Linked DNA regions of Homo sapiens: all the other regions are linked to region 3. The links are contacts of gene promoters, found by promoter capture Hi-C in human tissues and cell types (Jung and others, 2019). All regions are on one chromosome and are shown on one strand. Each heading gives the region's core, a stretch centred on a gene start or on the middle of the fragment in contact. The rest is flanking DNA. Distances are from core to core; before and after follow the strand shown.

The links. Contacts are between HindIII fragments. The study calls those that stand out against the background at their distance.
Region 1: a contact is called between a fragment that was not itself captured here and the fragment with the promoter of OMG in region 3, in 1 of the 25 tissues and cell types used here (lymphoblastoid cells).
Region 2: a fragment that was not itself captured here is called in contact with the fragment with the promoter of OMG in region 3 in 1 of the 25 tissues and cell types used here (dorsolateral prefrontal cortex).

What each region holds. Positions count from the first base shown.
Region 1 is chr17:30,945,984-30,950,543 of GRCh38, reverse strand. It overlaps ADAP2 (ArfGAP with dual PH domains 2), which reads right to left. Exons shown (of 11, transcript NM_018404.3): 7 at 1,174-1,257. Among named protein-coding and RNA genes, the nearest start is that of RNF135, 23 kb to the left of the region's middle. The HindIII fragment of the contact is 6,000 bases long and covers 1-4,279 here.
Region 2 is chr17:31,004,866-31,009,305 of GRCh38, reverse strand. It overlaps the pseudogene LOC107984974. Among named protein-coding and RNA genes, the nearest start is that of RNF135, 36 kb to the right of the region's middle. RefSeq lists a silencer at 438-487 and an enhancer at 532-1,033. The HindIII fragment of the contact is 7,448 bases long and covers 1-4,440 here.
Region 3 is chr17:31,294,687-31,299,493 of GRCh38, reverse strand. It overlaps OMG (oligodendrocyte myelin glycoprotein), which reads left to right and starts at 2,255. Exons shown (of 2, transcript NM_002544.5): 1 at 2,255-2,338; 2 at 3,157-4,807. The coding sequence starts at 3,163. The coding sequence ends at 4,485. The region is part of intron 36 of NF1 (neurofibromin 1); the gene reads right to left. The HindIII fragment of the contact is 15,224 bases long and covers 1-4,807 here.

The sequences.
Region 1 (4,560 bases), core at 30-2,529, 350 kb after region 3:
GAGCCTCTTGAAGAGGACCAGAGCATAGAATCTCAGAGGCGGAAGGGACCCTGAAGATGACCTGGACTAACCGCCATCTTACCCATATGGAAATAGAAGCTCAGAGGGGTGCCAGGACCTGCAGGGGTCACACAGCAAGTGAGCAATAGAGCATCCCTGAGAGCCCAGGCTTCCTGGCTCGAGACAGCATCCTCTGCCCTACACCATGCGGGTCTCCCTGGCCCAGCCTGAGATAGGGAGATGAAGGCCCCAGAAGTCTGGAGACAATCAAAATGAAGTTCTCGGCTCCCCATGATGTTGGCCATGAAGGGCATACCTGCTCCTGTTACAACTGTAATGGAGAGGATCCCAGGCTTTCCCAAGCCCAGAGCATCACAGGGCAAAGAGGGGATTTTAGAAAGGGAAGCACACCTTTGGTTATTCACCTGCCCTTCCTGGGACTGTATAACTCATCAGTGAAATGGAAATAATCACCCCTGCCTGGCTGCCATTTCACAAGACAAAATGGGCTCAAAGCACTCTGTAAGCAGTATGTTAGGGATCATTTGTACATTTTAGAGGGAGAAGGGTTCAGAAAGAGATGACCAATTGCTGAGCCCCTTGACACTCTTCTGAAGGGGAGACACTGACCAGCTTTTGGGAGGCCGCCTTGTCGTATGTGAGGCTGTAACCCCCGCAGGCTCCCCTGGAGAATGCCTTGGGCTTCCCTCTGAGCAGCCCAGCCCTCAACCTCGAGGTCTTGCCTGCAAACAAAACTAGTCTGGCTTCTTCTTCTTTTTTTTTTTTTTTTTTTTTGAGACGGAGTCTCACTCTGTCACCCAGGCTGGAGTGCAGCGGCGCCATCTGGGCTCACTGCAAGCTCCGCCTCCCGGGTTAACACCATTCTCCTGCCTCAGCCTCCCAAGTAGCTGGGACTACAGGCGCCTGCCACCACACCTGGCTAATTTTTTTGTATTTTTAGTAGAGACGGGGTTTCACCGTGCTAGCCAGGATGGTCTCGATCTCCTGACCTTGTGATCCGCCCGCCTCAGCCTCCCAAAGTGCTGGGATTACAGGCGTGAGCCACCGCGCCCAGCCCTAGTCTGGCTTCTGAGTGTCTTCGAGGTCAACAGACAGGGAAAGAAGGAGATGGCCAAGAGGAGATTCAGAAATTGGGGTCCGCATTTAGCTCACCTCAGACTCTGGGAGTTCAGGAAAGGCCATTTTTAGGTACTGCAGACGGGCTGCACGGAGGGCATTGAACCAGTCCACTATCTCCTGCGGAGAGAAGTGCACAGGACACACACACAGCAGTGAGATGGGGTGGGTGGGAAGCTACCTCTGGTGGCGGGAAGCTAGCTGGGCATTGGGTGTGGGGCACATATATTCAGCACCTGCACACACCCCACAGCTCGGCTCAGGGGCATCCAGGGAGGATTGTGTCAGAGCCTCGTGGGCTAACCCGGGCAAGCAGGAAGCCTCTGACAGGGATAACCCCAGAGCCCTGGAAAAGGATTGAGTGAACTGCATGGGAGTTCTGCAATGGCCTCGGACAGTGCTTTTCACCTTCTAATGCGTGCAAAATCACCTGAGGCTCTTGTTAAAATGCAGAGGCATATCCAGTAGGTTTGGAATGGGGCCCAAGACTCTGCATTCCTAACACGCTCTCAGGTGATATGATGCTGCTAGTCAGTGGAATGCACTCTAAGGAGCAAGGCTCTAGGAAATCATTGTCCTCAGATGTCAAAGATTGGCATTTGGGTGGGGAGCAGTTATGCCTGGGGATGCTCCTCTAATGAGGATGCTCATGGCAACTTAGGCCAAAGCTGGCTTGGCCCCTTCTGCTGTCACTCTGAGAGAACATGTCCCTCAGCAGCCTGGGCCACCTTCATCTCCCACATAGACAACCATGTATCTAGCTGGCCTTGATCAGCTGCTCTCTGACTGGCCCTCTCATGGCAGCCTGAGTGATTTTCCTTTATTTATTTTTTTTTAGATGGAGTCTCATGCTGTCGCCGAGGCTAGAGTGTGCAGTGGTGCGATCTTGGCTCACTGCAACCTCCGCCTTCTGGGTTCACACCATTCTCCTGCCTCAGCCTCCCGAGTAGCTGGGACTACAGGCGCCCACCACCACACGGCTAATTTTTTTTTTTTTTGTATTTTTAGTAGTGACAGGGTTTCACCACGTTAGCCAGGATGGTCTCGTGATCTGCCCGCCTCGGCCTCCCAAAGTGCTGGGATTACAGGCGTGAGCCACAGCGCCCAGCCTGTAGCCAGAGTGATTTTCTAATTACAAATCTAATCAGTCTGGCTTGGAGTCCTGTCTACTACCCTCAGAAAAAAAAGTCTTAAGTTCTTTACTATGATTTTGCTGTCTGAGCTCCTTCCATGCAAAACTATTTGCAATTCTCCCAACACCTACTGTTCCTTCCTCTCGGGACATTCTGCTTAGCCCGCTCCATCCCACACACACCTTTTACGCAAAACATTCCACTTATCCCGCAGGTTAGTTTTGATGTTGTAATAGATAGATTTTTGGTGCTTGCTCAGCCCAAGCCCTGCTTCTGTGAGAACTACCCCGCCTATCTTCACCCAACCCCAGTTGCAGCCCCATTTACTGCTGTGATCCTGCCCCTGCTTAACCACAGCAACTGGACCAGGCCTGGAGCAACACAGAGGCTGGACTGGGCTTATCAGATTCCTTCTCCCAGGAATTTGGAATTGGGAGGCTAAAGGCTTGTTCAAATAGTGGTAGTTTGTGACTTTGATATAATGTGGTGATTGAGAAAGTCATCTGAATATGGTTTAAAAGGAATGAAACCATTTCTCTTTCTCTCTCATAGGCGAAGCACACAGGCCTAGTATTCCAGGGATCTGTGCTCTCTTGTCCTGGGGTTCATTAAGGACCCTCTGGCCAGGTGCAGTGGCTCACGCCTGTAATCCCAACACTCTGGGAGGCCGAGGCGGGTGGATCACCTGAGGTCAGGAATTTGAGACCAGCCTGACCAACATGGTGAAACCCCATCTCTACTAAAAATACAAAATTAGCCGGGTATGGTGGTACATGCCTGTAATCTCAGCTACTCAAGAGGCTGAGGCTGGAGAATTGCTTTAACCTGGGAGGTGGAGGTTGCAGTGAGCCGAGATTGCACCACTGCACTCCAGTCTGGGTGACAGAGCGAGACTCTGTCTCAAAAAAAAACCTTAGGTCTCAGACACTAAGGGAATGGGGCCAGTCCAGAAAAGACACACCTAGGCCTTCACCTTGGAAGGTCTCTCCAGTCATAATCTGGTGATCCTGGTGCCAAATCCAACCTGCATACATGTCTGTTTGCTCCTAAAGTTTTGTTTGTTTCAATCCTCCATGCAGGTTTTCCTGTTTGCCACAGCCCCCTCCCCATCCCTTATGCCTGTCCATTTAGCTTTTAAATCACCCCCTGACTCCTGCAGGCAGGAATCTGGAGCCCTCATTTATGCCCATCTAACAGACAGGCTGGGGCATCAAGCAAAAGAGAAGAATGGCCAGACCCAGGTTGTCAGATGCACCATACTGGGCAGATAGGAGGGAGCTGGGTATCCTAAGTGCCAGAGACCTTGGGTGCCTCAGTAAAAGTCCTTATGGCAGTGATTGGCATGGAGAGGGGGCTAGGGCCATGGTGCTAGGGGCCCCTTAGGAAGGTCTAGTCCCTGCATCTGGTTCCTGGCTCCTGCTGCCAAGTGTCCTTCCTACAGCAGAGGCACATGGCAGGTAAAGTGGGTGCAGGGCTGTGACCCTGAGCAAGTTACTAACATGTCCGTGACTCAATAATGTGGGGCTTGTTTTCAGGATTAAGAAATGATGGACAGCAATCACCAAAAGCAGTGCCCAGGGGAGTTAATAGATGGTCACAAAATGTCAGCACCCACCTTCATCCACCCCCACTCAGCATCTCTGTCCCCTGCCTAGTTATGTGACCCTGCTCAGGACCTGACCCAGCTTATTCTGTTATATTGGCTTATTCATCTCTGACTGGGCAGATTTCCTGGACTATTAAATAGTGCTTCTCAGCCGGGCGCAGTAGCTCACCCCTGTAATCCCAGCACTTTGGGAGGCCAAGGTGGGCAGATCACTTGAGGTCAGGAATTCAAGACCAGCCTGGCCAACATAGTGAAACTCTGTGTCTACTAAAAATACAAAAAAATTAGCTGGGTGTGATCTCAGCCACTCGGGAGGCTGAGGCAAGAGGATCGCTTGAACCCTGAAGGTGGAGGTTGCAGTGAGCCGAGATCACGCCACTGCACTCCAGTCTGGGCAATAGAGCAAGATTCCATCTCCAAAGGAAAAAAAATAGTGCTTCTCAAACTTTAATGTGCACAAGACTCACCTGGGATCCCGTTACAATGCAGTTTTTTTGTTTTTTTTGTTTTTTTGAGGTGGAGTCTTACTCTGTCACCCAGGCTGGAGTGCAGTGGCGCCATCTCGGCTCACTGCAAGCTCTGCCTCCTGGGTTCACGCCATTCTCCTGCCTCCGCCTCCTGAGTAGCTGGGACTACAGGCACCTGCCACCATGCCCGGCCAATTTTTTTTGTATTTTTAGTAGA
Region 2 (4,440 bases), core at 1,129-3,628, 290 kb after region 3:
GGCATAAGTAGGTGTGCAAGGTAACAACCCGGGAACACACACGCACACACTTCCGTTAAGCGCTCCATCTTTAAGGAGTAAACACTCCTTAAAGTTGCGCGCAGTCAGCAACCGGATTCAATAATCCTCGCCACGAGAGCTCTTCATCCCCTTCACGATCCCACCTGGGCGGTAGCCCAGGGGCTCCTCCCCGAGCCCCGAGAGGCAGCATCGGGCTCCTTGACCAAGACTTTCGGACCTGAAATCCGCCTGCGATGCGAACCGATGTAACCTCCCCTCCACAAAAGACCACCCCCCCTCCCCAAGTCATCCTCGGCTTTTTAAAGAATGTCCAAACCGGAGCGAGTGGTTTTCCAATTACTCTCCCTGAACTAGGCCTTCCCATTCCTCCAACCCCCAACTCACCATTGATCGCGATCCTGGCCCTTCCCAAGTCAACAGGCACCCCCCGCCAGCTCGCCCACCCGGCGGCTGCCCAGCCCGGCCCGGCGCTCCCCCTCACCTGTCAGGTGCAGCTTGACGGGCCCGTTCCTCCGGCTTCCGGGGTTGGACATGTCCCCAGCGGCGGAGGCGGCGGGCAGGACGGGGACAGGGGCGACGGCGAGGCGCGGCGGAGTCACCACAGCGTCAGGGGCTGAGGCCCGAGCTTTTGGCGCTGCAACCGCCACGGCCGGAGGGTCCCGGACGTGCCGAGCGTAGTCGTCCTGAGCCGCGGAGGACGCGGGACGCCGAGCTCCCCGCTCCTCCCACTTCTCTTTCCTTGGTCTGGGCTGCACAACTAGGCGGCAGCCGGCCGCCCGCGCCTCCGCAGCATCCTCGCGGCCTCTGCGGCCTTTCCCTCCTCTCGTCTGGGCTAGGCCCAGTAGTCGACGGCGCTGGTCGGCTGAGGCAGGCGGTGCTCCGGCGGCGCCGGAGCAGGACTCTCGGCTTCTCCTCCTCCACCCGCCCTTTTGTCTGAGGGACCCGGGATTTTGCTTTTCCCTTATAGAAATGGTGGAGTCAGTGAAGAAATTAGCAGGGATGGATGTGGAGCTGACAGCTGAAGAAAGAAACCTCCTATCTGTTACATATAAGAATGTGATTGGAGCTAGAAGAGCCTCCTGGAGAATAATCAGCAGCCTTGAACAGAAAGAAGGAACAAGGGAGGAGAAGACAAGCTAAAAATGATTCGGAAATACCGGCAAATGGTGAGACTGTTGTACAACAGTCCCCCCTTATCCGCAGTTTGAGTTACCAGTGGTACAGTACAATAAGATATTTTTAGAGAAAAGAGACTACGTTCATGTAACTTCTATTAGAGTATGTTATAATTGTTCTGGTATTAATCTTTTTCTGTGCCTAGTTTATAAATTAAACTTTACCATGAGTATGTATGTACAGAACAAAACATAGTATATATAAAGTTTGGTGTTGTCCATGGTTTCAGCGTATCCACTGGGGGGGGTCTCAGAATGGATCCCTCTCAGATAAAAGGGAACTATCGTATTTTCAAGAAAAATGATGATGATGTGTTTTGGGTTAAATTTGTCCCATTCTTCTTTTTATTGAAAGACTAAGGTTTTTTTTTTTTTTTTTCTAATCCAATATCGTTGTTTTTAATCTCTGGGTTTTATACAACAGAAATTATCTGGGGGAAGGAAGCTCTTGTTACCTGAATATGTCCTAATTTTTGTCTCTTATTTTTATGGTTTTAGAAAATGTCTCTGAAAAGGGAGGCTTGTTTCTGTTGAGTGTCTGGCTTAGTTCTCAGGCTTATGTCTGTCAGTAATTTGGCCATAGTTGTTGGCATTCGAGGTCACAGCCTAGTGCTCACATGACTGTATATGTAGTACACATTTTATATCTTGGTAGAGTTGTGTCTTTTGCTCACGTGGATTAGGCTATAGAATATTCCACGGCAGAGGCGAATAACTTTTTCTCCTGGAAGCTGCAGTAGTGGGCAAAAAAGTGAGACCCTGTCCCTAAAAATAAAGTTGTAAAGCTTGGCCGGGTGCAGTGGCTCACGCCTGTAATCCCAGCACTTTGGGAGGCCAAGGCGGGTGGATCACAAGGTCAGGAGATCGAGACCATCCTGGCTAACACGGTGAAACCCCGTCTCCACTAAAAAAAAAAAAAAAAAAAAAAAAAAAAAAATTCTCCAGGCGTGGTGGTGGGCGCCTGTAGTCCCAGCTACTCCGGAGGCTGAGGCAGGAGAATGGCGTGAGCCCGGGAGGCGGAGCTTGCAGTGAGCCGAGATTGCGCCACTGCACTCCAGCCTGGGCAACACAGCGAGACTCCGTCTCAAAATAAATAAATAAATAAAAAAGTTGTAGGCTGGGATTGATGTTACCATTACTATGAAATATGTTGGGTCAAAGAATTTCGATGACCAATAGACAAGTTTTGTGTCCCAGAGGAATGAGGAAGTAAGAAAGTTCAAAGTGCTGAAGAAAGAAGTCCATGAGCTACACTGTGGGACTTGGGCTAGCTAGGAAATGGAAGCAGGAAGCAAAGAGAGCAACTGATAAATTGGGAGAAGATGTGAAAAGTTCAAGTCTGGATGTCTTAGGTGAGATATATGCATAAGAAAGAAAGAAAGAGGAGAGAGAGAGAGAGAGGGAGAGAGAGAGAGAGAAAAGAAGGAAAAGAAAGAGAAAGAAAGAGAAGAAAGGGAAAGAAAGAAAGAGAGGAAAGAAAGAGAAAGAAAGGAAAGAAAGAAAGAAAGAAAGAAAGAAAGAAAGAAAGAAAGAAAGAAAGAAAGAAAGAAAGGGAGAGAGTGTAGATGTCTTGATGAGTCCCTAAGTAGAAACACGAAGAGAAAAGGAACTAAAAGAGGAAGCCACGGCCAAGAGTGGAGCATTACAATGTTAAGACTTCTAGTATGGAGCAGCACAGTTAGGGGTATGGACAAGTGCAAGTCTTGGAGTAGAAAGCAAAGAACTCTGTTGAATGGAACGTGGCCACACCATACCTTGGTGTGATCTCAGGTTTTGGATAGGTTGGCTGTAGATAGTCATTGAATGTGGGAGAACAGCCTAGAGAGCTATTAATGACAGAAACTGACAAATAGAATGTAGAATATTAGCTTGTGAGGAGGAAGGGTTTGGAGTAACAGGAAAGTAGTCATTGAGTATGTGAGGAGCTAGGAGAACATGGAAATCTTTCTTCTCCTACAGCAGTCTCTATCTGAAAAACCATCAGGGAGATAGTTTATTCAGAAAATAGTTTTGCTTAGCTAAGATAAGGATGCAATTTCGGAAGAAAGAATGAAAGAATGTTTTACAGTGGAAAGCAGGTTCCAGGGCCATGAGAGGAACCTCGAAAGGTTCAACAGTAGTGCCATGAGTTCATAGAAAATAGGAAGCAAGCGGCCAGGCACAGTGGGTCACGCCTGTAAATCTCAGCACTATGGGAGGCCGAGGCAGGCGGATCACGGGGACAGGAGATAGTGACCATCCTGGCTAACATGGTGAAACTCTGTCTCTACTAAAAAAAAAAAAAAAAAAATTAGCCGGGCATGGTGGTGGTGCCTATAGTCCCAGCTACTCGGGAAGCTGAGGCAGGAGAATGGCGTGAACCCGGGAGGCGGAGGTTGCAGTGAGCTGAGATTGCGCCATTGCACTCCAGCCTGAGGGACAAAGCAAAACTCCATCTCAAAATAATAATAATAATAACATAAAATAAAATAAAAATAAGGCCAGCACAGTGGCTCACCCCTGTAATCCCAGCACTCTGGGAGGCCAAGGCGGGTGGATCACTTGAGGTCAGGAGTTCAAGACCAGCCTGGCCAACACTGGGAAACCTGGTCTCTACTAAAAATGTAAAAAATTAGCCAGGCATGATGGCACATGCCCATAATCCCAGCTACTCAGGAGGCTGAGGCAGGAGAATCACTTGAACCTGGGAGACGGAGGTTGCAGTGAGCCGAGATTGTGCCACTGCACTCCAGCCTGGGTGATAGAGCGAGACTGTCTCAAAAACAAAACAAAACAAAATAGTATTTGAGAGAGAAGCAAGGGACAGATAGATATAACTATTTTAGAGGTTTCCTCAAGCCTAACAAGATGGTGGCTTCCTGCTTAGCAGGTGGTCTTCCAGGAACCCAAAGCCCCGGACCCAATAGTGGGTTCAACAGAACTATCCAGCAGCTGCTTCACCAGAGTGTGTGAGGTGGAAGAGAAGAGAGAAGGACAGAAGCAGCCCATGGCACTGATGAGAACACTCCATTCTCCTCAACCCCCAGGAAAAAAAAACACTTGAGAGACAAGGCCTGATAGAAAACAAATTTTTGAGAACAATGTCCCCAGATAGCGCAGAAAGCTGCCAAAGGAGTTCCTCGTGCTCTCCTATGAAGCAGTGTGTCTCCGCTATAGACTGAATGTTTGTGTTCTCCCAAAATTCATGTACTGAAATCCTAACTCCCAATATGACAGTCCTGGGAGGTGATTGGGTCATGAAGAT
Region 3 (4,807 bases), core at 1,006-3,505:
TACGTAAATTAATTTACTGCTTAATCTAGAATGTAAAAGTTGCCTAACTATCATTACTGACCTAGACAGCCTAATAGAAAATGTAATGAGTCTGAATAATATTTAAAATAAGTTGTAACACATACTTATGCCTCTAAAAAATATTTTTTTTGAGTAACAGTAATACAGTATTATTTTATTTCATGAGAATTTCTTTTATTTATTTATTTATTTTTATTATACTTTAAGTTTTAGGGTACATGTGCACAACGTGCAGGTTAGTTACATATGTATACATGTGCCATGCTGGTGTGCTGCACCCAGTGTAAGAGATTGTTAGAATTCAAATATATTGAAATGATCTCCCTTTTTCTTTTTGAGAATTTTACAATAATCTTTGAATAATATGAAGCAATTTGGTATGTCCCAAACTTGAAATGAGAAACATTGCCACTACTATTGCACTGGAATTTTCTATTATATACAACAGAAACTAAACTTGATACAGCCTAAACCCAAATTCATTTGAATCCATTAATGAAGTAACATGTCTTTTCTTTCAAACAAAAGTACTGTTAAGTGTAATGAAAATGCATAACTCTACTTCTACACTGACTTAATGAGGTTTCCTAAAATTAAGAGATTTAAGTGGTCGGTAAATTGACCCTCAGTCACATCTTTAGAAGTGCAGCAGTGTATATATGAGCTTAAATAGAACTCTAAATGTCAATGCATTCCCTATTTCCACAATATTGCTGAATGTAGTATTTTTAACACATTATTTTAAGCACTATGATTGATGGCTGGTTTCCTAAATCCACAGTAAGAATCCAATTGAGAGTTCAACTGAACCCTCAAAGTAAAGTGGCAATAAAGCACCCAATCAACAATAAACTTCTATGTTGCGGACTCTTAAAATGCAGATACTTTTCGAGGAACATTAGTTTTATACAAAAGGTGGCTCCTAGAGTATAGTTTCTCTTGTAAGAAAATAAACTTCAAATTTTAATACAACAAATTCTATTTGTGGTATAATCTAAATAATGCTAATATAATTTAGAGAAAAACAAACGATTTAGTAACAAGGCATAAAGAGACTTTCCTTACACATAACATGCTAAATATTACTCGTTTTTAAATGGTGCCACTTGGTAACGAAAATACCGTAACTTTATTTGCTTTCTTTAAACTTGCCATTCTGGAAATCAGATTTGTGTTTTAACAGATTTACACAAGCAGTCCACTGAAGAGTGGAGCAAAATTTATCATAAATCTGATCTCACTTTATAAAACTCATGATGAAAAATTTTCCTTTTATATCATTTCATGTAATTTTAAAACTATAAACTACTTTCCCAGAAAGATGAAATGTGCAACACTCTGAAATCACCTAAATTGATACTGCTATTCTTAAAACATAAAATCAAATAAATGGTCATTCATACAGCACCAAAAATGTCTTTGGAAAAAACAATACTCATATCCACTTACCACCCAAGGTTGCATAAAGAAAAAAAACTTTAACTCCAAATATATAAAATAAAACATGTTTATTTTACATAGGAACTGATAATCTGAAGTATAAGATGCTAATTTCCAAATGTATCCTGGCTTGTGTGTAGCCTTGGTCAAATGATCATTGTATCAGAAAGATAAAGAAAAAATAATCGTATTTCAGTACTTCTATACATCCTAAAAGGGAAGACGGAACACTTAAGTGGTTGATAAATTTGAAAAGCTGATTAAACATAATAATCACCATGTTGGGGGAAGACATAAAAGTCATAAAACAGATTTTTTATAATATTAAAAAAGTGACATGAAAATTATACAATTTTAGAAAGGAATATAAAAAGGCAGGAGTTAAAAAATAGTGGGACTAATATCATAGAAAACTATCCATGAGGAAGGTCAAATTTATTTTCAACATGTAAAAAGGATAAAGAGTAGAGGTATTTTAAAAATTCACAGATTCTTAATGAGGCAAATGTTAAAATATGGAACCCAATCTCAGACAAATACATAGAAAGGAGTAAGGGCCAACTCTCATGCATAAGGTATCCCATCCTATAGCAAATCAGATATATAGGTACGCTTGATGCCACAAATTTTTTAAAAAATTGTCCATTTTGTTGCGTGTGCACCTCTTGCCATAAATTTGAGTCAGCACCAGCGACAGCTCTGCAGTCCTCCTATGTGGTACTGATCAGGTGGTTGCAGAGCTTCAGCTCACAGCAACACAATGCAGCTGAGCAGGCAAGCACAGCCCACAGCCAGAAACAGTTCCGACTCTACAGAACAAGACGACCTTTAAGTTTCCCAGAGAAAATGAGATGCTGATGTTGAAGACGACACCACGGTAAGATGTTATTTAAATCAGTAAAAGGCTGACTTTGGAATCTTTTTCCTTTTTCTTTTAAGAAAAAGTCAACGTTAGGATTAAATATATATTCAATAGCAAGTGCATGCACCAGAAATTTGCTGCAGTGTCAGTTGAGGGATATTTTTTATACATTCAGTCACTCTGTAAATATACATATTGTTTTCCTTTAAAATGGGCACTGAAATATACAGAAAAAAATCACTTTATAAAATGTGAGGTTTATAGGTACTGTGTTGGTCTGGATTTTTCAAGTGCTTTTTACAAAGATATATTTATCCTAAAAACATACAGATAAAATTTCGAAGAACTGCTTTAATATCTAAATAAAATCTACCCTATATACACACATTGAATTACATTACTGCAGAGATTAAAAAAAAAAGACACGACAGCCATTTTTTCTCATCTGAGTAAGAAAGCATATCATCAAAAATAGTAATAGCCTACAACTGCAACTATTTATTTGCAAAGAATGCTATTTTATCATATTAAGGCTCTAGAAAGATAAATAAGAAAGAATATGGTTAGAAAAGGGGGGAGGGAGAGAGAAAATAAAGGAGAAAATGCAGGAGAGAGTAGGGAGAGAGTCTCTCTCTACCACATAGCCCAATTGAAGGATTAAGCATTTGGACTATAAATGAAGGGGAGCTTTGTTAGTTTAATCACTGGAACAATTATAAAAGGACTCGACAACAACGAGGTTTATTGAAAATTTTGCCTAATGCTAACTGACCCATGCAGATGCCTAAACTGTATTTGCATATTAAAAGAAGGGTGTATCTGTTTGTTTCTAGGCTTTGATGGAATATCAGATATTGAAAATGTCTCTCTGCCTGTTCATCCTTCTGTTTCTCACACCTGGTATTTTATGCATTTGTCCTCTCCAATGTATATGCACAGAGAGGCACAGGCATGTGGACTGTTCAGGCAGAAACTTGTCTACATTACCATCTGGACTGCAAGAGAATATTATACATTTAAACCTGTCTTATAACCACTTTACTGATCTGCATAACCAGTTAACCCAATATACCAATCTGAGGACCCTGGACATTTCAAACAACAGGCTTGAAAGCCTGCCTGCTCACTTACCTCGGTCTCTGTGGAACATGTCTGCTGCTAACAACAACATTAAACTTCTTGACAAATCTGATACTGCTTATCAGTGGAATCTTAAATATCTGGATGTTTCTAAGAACATGCTGGAAAAGGTTGTCCTCATTAAAAATACACTAAGAAGTCTCGAGGTTCTCAACCTCAGTAGTAACAAACTTTGGACAGTTCCAACCAACATGCCCTCCAAACTACATATCGTGGACCTGTCTAATAATTCTTTGACACAAATTCTTCCAGGTACATTAATAAACCTGACAAATCTCACACATCTTTACCTGCACAACAATAAGTTCACATTCATTCCAGACCAATCTTTTGACCAACTCTTTCAGTTGCAAGAGATAACCCTTTACAATAACAGGTGGTCATGTGACCACAAACAAAACATTACTTACTTACTGAAGTGGATGATGGAAACAAAAGCCCATGTGATAGGGACTCCATGTTCTACCCAAATATCATCTTTAAAGGAACATAACATGTATCCCACACCTTCTGGATTTACCTCAAGCTTATTCACTGTAAGTGGGATGCAGACAGTGGACACCATTAACTCTCTGAGTGTGGTAACTCAACCCAAAGTGACCAAAATACCCAAACAATATCGAACAAAGGAAACAACGTTTGGTGCCACTCTAAGCAAAGACACCACCTTTACTAGCACTGATAAGGCTTTTGTGCCCTATCCAGAAGATACATCCACAGAGACTATCAATTCACATGAAGCAGCAGCTGCAACTCTAACTATTCATCTCCAAGATGGAATGGTCACAAACACAAGCCTCACTAGCTCAACAAAATCATCCCCAACACCCATGACCCTAAGTATCACTAGTGGCATGCCAAATAATTTCTCTGAAATGCCTCAACAAAGCACAACCCTTAACTTATGGAGGGAAGAGACAACCACAAATGTAAAGACTCCATTACCTTCTGTGGCAAATGCTTGGAAAGTAAATGCTTCATTTCTCTTATTGCTCAATGTTGTGGTCATGCTGGCTGTCTGAGGGTCTGCATTTTCTGAAACTAATGAAAGCACTCCTCCCTGATGTACAGTTGGGAAAATATGTCCATATCTAACCAGTGATTCGAGCTATATTTAAGTATTCAAGAAAGCCAGTCTTAACATTTCTAACTCTGATGTAAATGAAGTAACTTGTCTTAAATAAAAGAAATGCACAATGTCTTGGTACTTGCTGCTATTTTACTGTCTTAATTAAGTAAACTAATGAGTTTCTTTTATAAAAAAAATGAAATGTTTTAAGGCTTCAATTTATTGCACAAAATATAAAGCATCTAAACTTTAATATGTATTTTATGTATGTTTAC